2 separate regions of the Homo sapiens genome follow, and region 2 is linked to region 1. Evidence: promoter capture Hi-C in human tissues and cell types (Jung and others, 2019). All regions are on one chromosome and are shown on one strand. The core of a region is centred on a gene start or on the middle of the fragment in contact, and the rest is flanking DNA. Distances in the headings are between cores, read along the strand shown.

Region 1 (3,282 bases), core at 258-2,757:
CCTGCACCTGCAGAAAACAAGCTGGATCAGAGGTAGTTAAAAGCACAGCTCTCCAGCAGTCAGAAAGAAGTGTGTCCAACCTGCAAGCTACGCAACCTAAGTCTCAGTATTCTTCACTGTACCATGAGGATAACACTGGTACCGATTTCCTGGGGCTGTAGTGAGCATTCAATGGATGTCACATGTAAAGGTGCTTAGCACCTAGTAAACCCTGAACAGATGCTGACCATTGTCATGAAAACCTCAGTTTTAATCACATAGGCCCACGGGAAACTCAGCAAGATCCACTGACCAGCTCTAAAATCAGGGAATGTGTTAGTCATTTCATCAGCTACCCATGTTATCACTAAATTCAAAAGCAAATACTCCCGTGCCCTTAATCCAACTACTTTAATGTCTCTTTTGAGGGGAGGTAGGGGTGTTGCTTTTCATCCCTGCTGCAACAGCCAATTTCAAAGCTCAACTTTTTTAGAAACTTCTGCGTCCAACTCACAGTTCTTGTTAGGAGGGCAGTAGTAGGAGAGGATAAAATATACGGAAACAGTGGTCATATTCACATGTGACACTACACCCTTGGAAAAACAGCTTCTATTTTCTTACAGAAAGTATCCTGTGTCCAGTGAGCCAAAAGATGAAAGCAATGCATACCCCGTTTATTCTGTTTAAAGAATTAGGCCAAGCGCAGTGGCTGACGCCTGTCATCCCAGTACTTTAGGAGGCCGAGGCGGGCGGATCACCTGGGGTTAGGAGTTCAAGACCAGCCTGGCCAACATAGTGAAACCCATTGTCTACTAAAAAATATAAAAAAATTAATCGCGCATGGTGATATGCGACTGTAAATCCCAGCTACTTGGGAGGCTGAAGTGGGAGGATGGCTTGAGCCCAGGAGGCAGAGGCTGCAATGAGACATATTCAGGCAACTGCACTCAAGCATGGGCGACAGAGCAAGTCCCTCCCTCAAGGACAAAAAAAAAAAAAAAAAGAATTAAGTTTCCATAAAACAGGGAAGGGCAGCGGGCTTGGGATCTTGCCCACAGTTCTTAACTCGAGACGGCACCGAGTAAGGGAGGCTTTTAAAGAGATGGAGCAAGAAAATCACCAAGAAACGAGGCAACACTATGCTACATGGGTAAGCCTTTGCCTCAGGAGCCCAGGGGCTCCGCGCATCCACAACTTCTTTTAAAAGCAGAAAATACCCAACGAGAAAAGCACCGACCACACGGCCTGAAGGCCCGCTGAATCGGGGGGACGAAAAGCAGACGGCCGTGAAACTCCTAAATAATCCCTAAAAGTTAAAAGTGGCAGAAAATAAGAATAATCCCCAAATACTCGCACCGGTCTCACGAAGGCCCCGGCTGTCTACAAGGGCGCGCAAGCCGCAGGAATGACTGCGAGGTGTCGCCGGAAATGCAGCGGCGGGCGCTCTCCGTCCCGGTGGCGGGGCGAGGAGAGGGGAGCGGCTCTGTTGTGCCTGCGCAGTGTACCGGGAGAGGGGCGGTCAGAGAATGGGGACGGTGCGGGCGGGGCTTGAGCCGCCAAGTAGCAGCATGCGCCCTGCATTCAGCGGGTGGAGAGTGGGGCGGGGCATCGCGGCGAGCTCCTGAGTCCAGGGAACGCGGCGGGGAATCTCTGTGCTTCCCCTGTCCGCAGCGCCTGCAGGGCCGACCAGTATCAGTCCCAGGTCCAATCCTGAGTGGCCAAAAGCAGGAGACCCGGAGTTGGACCTGGGACTTGCACAAGCCGGACCACGTGAGCTCGGCCACGCCAGAGGTGAGGCCACCGCTGCGGGACCAGGGAATCTGAGGCTGGATTTTGAAGGACCCCATTAATAGAGGAACAAGTTACAGGGTATAAACCAGATGCAGGCCATCAGGGAGGAGTGTCACTCAAGCCCGATCTTGTCTACACCAGGAAGGGCCTGCCTGGAAGAAAATACGGGGGCTGCAGAATAATGTGGCTCAAAGCCAAATATCCGTTTGTTTTAGGGAGTGAGGCTGCTTGAGAAGCATCTTAAAGGGGGATGGGGAGTAAGTTAAACCTGATTTTTACCCAGCTCTGTGGACCCAAAATATCCACAGCATATTATCTCCATTCCCACTTGGAGTCACTCCTATTCCGTTTCCTGCACCACCATTCTCTTAGTTGCTCTACACTAAAATTTGCTGTCATCGTTGACTTCTCCCTCTCCATCCCCTACAAGTATCAACATACACAAATCTGACCAATATAATTGTCAGTGAATAAAGCGAATTCCAGCCAAGTTTTTTTTTTTTTTATGTGGAGTCTCACTCTATTGCCCAGGCTGGAGTGCAGCGTATGATCTTGTCTCACCACTACCTCTGACTCCCATGTTCAACTGATTCTCCTGCCTCAGCTGCCTGAGTAGCTGGGATTATAGGCCTGTACCACCACCCCTGGCTGCCAGGCTAATTTTTGTTATTTTTAGTGGAGATAGTGAGAGATCACAACGTGCCAGTGTGTTCAAAATTGATGGCTTCTTGGTCTGACTTGAGAAAGCTGCAGACCCTCGCGATGAGTGTTAGTTCTTAAAAGCAGTGTCTCTAGAGTTTTTCTTCCGATGTTTAGAAGTATTCAGGGAGTTTTTCTGCTGGTGGGTTTGCTGTCTCACTGGCTCAACGAGCAAAGCTACAGACCTCTGTGGTGGATGTTAAAGCTCTTAAGGCAGTGTGTCTGGAATTGTTTGTTCTTCCCGGTGGGATCGTGGTCTCCCTAGCTTTGGACTGGCTCAAGGAGCAAAGCTACAGACTTCTATAACGAATGTTAAAGCTCTTAAGGCAGTGCGTCTGGAATATGTTTGTTCTTTCCGGTGGGATCGTGGTCTTCGTAGCTTTGGGAGCAAAACTGCAAATCTTCGCAGTGAGCGTTACCACTTGTAAAGACAACACAGGACCTAAGCACCGAGCAACAGCAATATTTGTTGCAAAAAGAAAAAGAGAAAGAACAAAGCCTCCTCCACATAGAAGAAAACCCAAGTGCGTTACAACTACTGGCTTGGGCAGCCTGCTTTTATTCTCTTATCTGGCCCCACCCACATCCTGCTGATTGGTAGAGCCGAGTGGTCTGTTTTGACAGGGTGCTGATTGGTGCGTTTACAATCCCTGAGCTAGATACAAAAGTTCTCCACGTCCCCACCAGATTAGCTATAGAGTGTCCACACAAAGGTTCTCCAAGGTCCTGCCAGAGTAGCTAGATACAGAGTGTGGATTGGTGCATTCACAAACCCTGAGCTAGACACACGGTGCTGACTGGTGTGTTTACAAA
Region 2 (3,282 bases), core at 485-2,984, 250 kb after region 1:
ACTCTCCCCCATCCACATTTATGTTCTGGCCCCCTTGACCAAGTACCCCAAGAATCCAGTCTTATTCATACCCCCTGACACTTTTGGTACCTGTTAGCTGGGTCATCAGCTCTCTTTGAGTTTAAGCCCTTTCTTCCCTTATAAGGCCCAGTGCAACCTCAGCTGGGTGATGCTGGAATTTAAACCTATACTAGTATCCGGGAAAGAAGCTGGGGCTCATCCTGGGTGGAGGGCACAAGTGTCTTGAAGGGAAGAGGCCTCTGCATTGTCTTCAAGCAATGGGGCCGGGGGTGGGCTGGCTCTTGCTATGGAGGGATAGCCCACATTTGTGGGGTTGGAGGGTCTAGAGGAAACTAGAATTTCAAGGGGTAGGGCATCAACACAGATGTTTGCATCCTGTATTTCACAGTCCTGTTCTTCCCCAATCAGGGCCCTGAACTTGACACAGCAGATCTGGCATGGTTGGGAGTGTCACCTTCTTTGGTCTCAGATGATTAATTCTTAGCCCTGGTCCTCAGCTTTCTCTGGCCTCCCAATGCAAAAGAGAGTTTCTCTGTACACTTCCAAAGAGGTTCTCTGGCATTCATACTCAGATTTCAATTGCTTGGTAATTGCTTTCAACCTTTTGTTATCTTTTTCTAGAGTAAAAGGAGCTTAACTATATGGCCGTTCTCCAGGTTGCTGCTCTAAGCAACAGGGGCTGATTCCACCAGCACCTCTAAGAAGTGTACAGAATTCCTCCCAGCATTTGGGAGCTGGGGCACTTGTCATTGGCTCTCATCCTCTATCATGGGAAGATTGCCACCAGATGCATTAATTCCATGCATCTGGTGCACCATGGTGCACTTCGGAGGCTCGCATGATTTGGAGAAGGCAGAAAAGCAGAGTTGTAGAGCATAGGCTTGAGGCAAGCAGGCAGCTGAGCTCTCATGGAACTGTCTACCATAGCAGCAGCTGAAATTAGAGGCAAGCCCAGGGGCAGGAGGCAGTGTACCAGAATCTGCTGCTACTGCATGCACATTTCCAACTATTTTATCAATGTCAAATTTTAAACTTTTTATATCCACTTGTGTTCCTTTCCAGAGTTCAAACATTGAATTAGTTGTGCAATGGAAGGAGTATTACCAGGACCCAGATGCAGCCCAAGGAAAAAAGAAAACAAAAGGAGACACACACAGTAAGTGGTGTCTCATTGTGATTTGGATTTGCATTTCCCTAGTGATTAGTGATGGGAAACATATTTTCATGTGTTATTGGTCATTTGTTTATCTTCTTTGGAGAAATATTTATTCAAGTCCTCTGCTCTCTTTTTTTTTTTTTTTTTTAGTCAGAGTCTCGCTGTATTAGTCTGCTCTCACACTGCTCATAAAGACATACCTGAAGCTGGGTAATTCATAAAAGAAAGGTTTAATTGACTCACAGTTCCACATTGCTAGGGAGGCAAAGGAGGAGCAAAGTCACATCTTAAATGGCAGCAGGCAAGAAAGTGTGTGCAGGGGAACTTCCCTTTATAAAACCATCACATCTTGTGAGATATCCACTATCACAAGAACAGCACAGGAAAGACCTGCCTCTATGATTAAGTTACCTCCCACTGGTTCCCTCATGACACATGGGAATTATGGGAACTACAATTTAAGATGAGATTTGGGTAGGGACACAGCCAAGCTATATCACTTGCTGTGTTGCCTACGCTGGTCTCCAACTCCTGGGCTCAAGTGATCCTCCCACATTGGCCTCCCAGTAGCTGGGACTACAAGCTTGAGCCACTGCACCTCCTTTGCACATTTTTAAATCAGATAGTTTTGTTTTTGTTGTTGTTGAGTTGTAGGAGCTATTTATGTATTCTGGATATTAACACCTTATCAGATGTATGATTTGCAAACATTTTTTCCCCATTCCATTGGTTGCCTTTTCACTCTGTTGATTGTGTCCTTTGATGCCGAGAAGTTTCTAAGTTTAATGTAGTATAATTTATCTATTTTATGGCTGGGCCTGGTGGCTCACACCCGTAATCCCAGCACTTTGGGAGGTTGAGGTGGGTGGATTGCTTGAGCCTAAGAGTTTGAGACCAGCCTGGGCAACATGGCAAAACCTTGCCTCTACTAAAACACAGAAAAATTAGCCAGGTGTGGTGGCATGCATCTGTGATCCCAGTTATTCGACAAGCTGAGATGAGAGGATTGCTTAAGCCTGGCAGGTTAAGGCTGCAGTGAGCCATAATTATGGCAATGCACTCCAGTCTGGGTGACAGAGCAAGACCCTGTCTCAAACAAACAAAACATTTATCTATTTTATTTTTGTGGCTTGTGCTCTTGGTAACACAACCAAGAAATCATTGTCAAATCCAATGTCATTGTAAAGCTTTCCCTCTATGTTTTCTTCTAGAAATTTTATAGTTTAGGCCTTACATTTAGGTCTTTGATCTATTTTATGTTAATTGTTACAAACGGTGTAAGGTAAGGGTCCCACTTTCTTCTTCTGCATGTGGACATTCATGTTTTCCCAATATTATTTGTTGAAAAGACCCCTTTCTCCATTGAATGGTCTCAACACCCATGTAAAAAGTCATTCAATCATATAGGCAAGGGTTTACTTCTGGGCTTTCTCTTCTATTCCATTGGTCTATGTGTCTGTTTTTATGCCAGTACCACACTGTTTTGATTATTGTTACCATATATGACTGTCTAAAAAATTTTATGTATGTATAAAAATTTTTATGTATACATAAAATTTATACATACATAAAATTTTTTTTGAGACAGTCTTGCTCTGTTGCCCAGGCTGGAGTGCAGTGGCACAATCTAGGCTCAGCTCACTGCAACCTGCGCTTCCTGGCAAGCGATTCTCGTCTTGTAATATATTTTGAAATCAGGAAGTGTGATGCCTCCAGCTTTGTCCTTCTTTCTCAAGCTTATTTTGGCTATCCAGGGTCCCTTGAGAGTCCACATAAATTTTAGGATAAATTTTTAATTGGATTTTTTAATAGGGATTACATTGTTTGCTTAATGTAATCATAATGCATATGATTTTCTTATGCCCCCAACAAATATGAAATCATAGTCATAATCATTTGCTAAATGATTACATTAAGATTGTTTTGGGTAGTGTTGACATTTTAACAAAACTAAGTCTTCCAATCATGAGCACAGATGTCATTCCATTTATTTGTGTCTTCTTTAAGTGCTTTCAGCAATGTTTTAAAGTTTTAGCGTACAGTCTTTTGTCTTCTTGGTTAAGTTTATTTCCAAGTATTTTATTCTTTTTGATACTATTGTAAAT

The links. The method cuts DNA at HindIII sites, captures the fragments that hold promoters and counts their contacts. A contact is called where the count stands out against the background at its distance.
Region 2: a fragment that was not itself captured here is called in contact with the fragment with the promoter of TMEM14C in region 1 in 1 of the 25 tissues and cell types used here (H1 embryonic stem cells).

Annotation. Positions count from the first base shown.
Region 1 is chr6:10,721,295-10,724,576 of GRCh38, reverse strand. It overlaps TMEM14C (transmembrane protein 14C), which reads right to left and starts at 1,507. Exons shown (of 6, transcript NM_016462.4): 1 at 1,336-1,507; 2 at 1-7. RefSeq lists an enhancer at 611-1,507 and a silencer at 1,447-1,576. The HindIII fragment of the contact is 20,984 bases long and covers 1-3,282 here.
Region 2 is chr6:10,472,395-10,475,676 of GRCh38, reverse strand. The region is part of intron 1 of LINC02522 (long intergenic non-protein coding RNA 2522); the gene reads left to right. Among named protein-coding and RNA genes, the nearest start is that of LINC02522, 7.9 kb to the left of the region's middle. The HindIII fragment of the contact is 5,008 bases long and covers 1-3,282 here.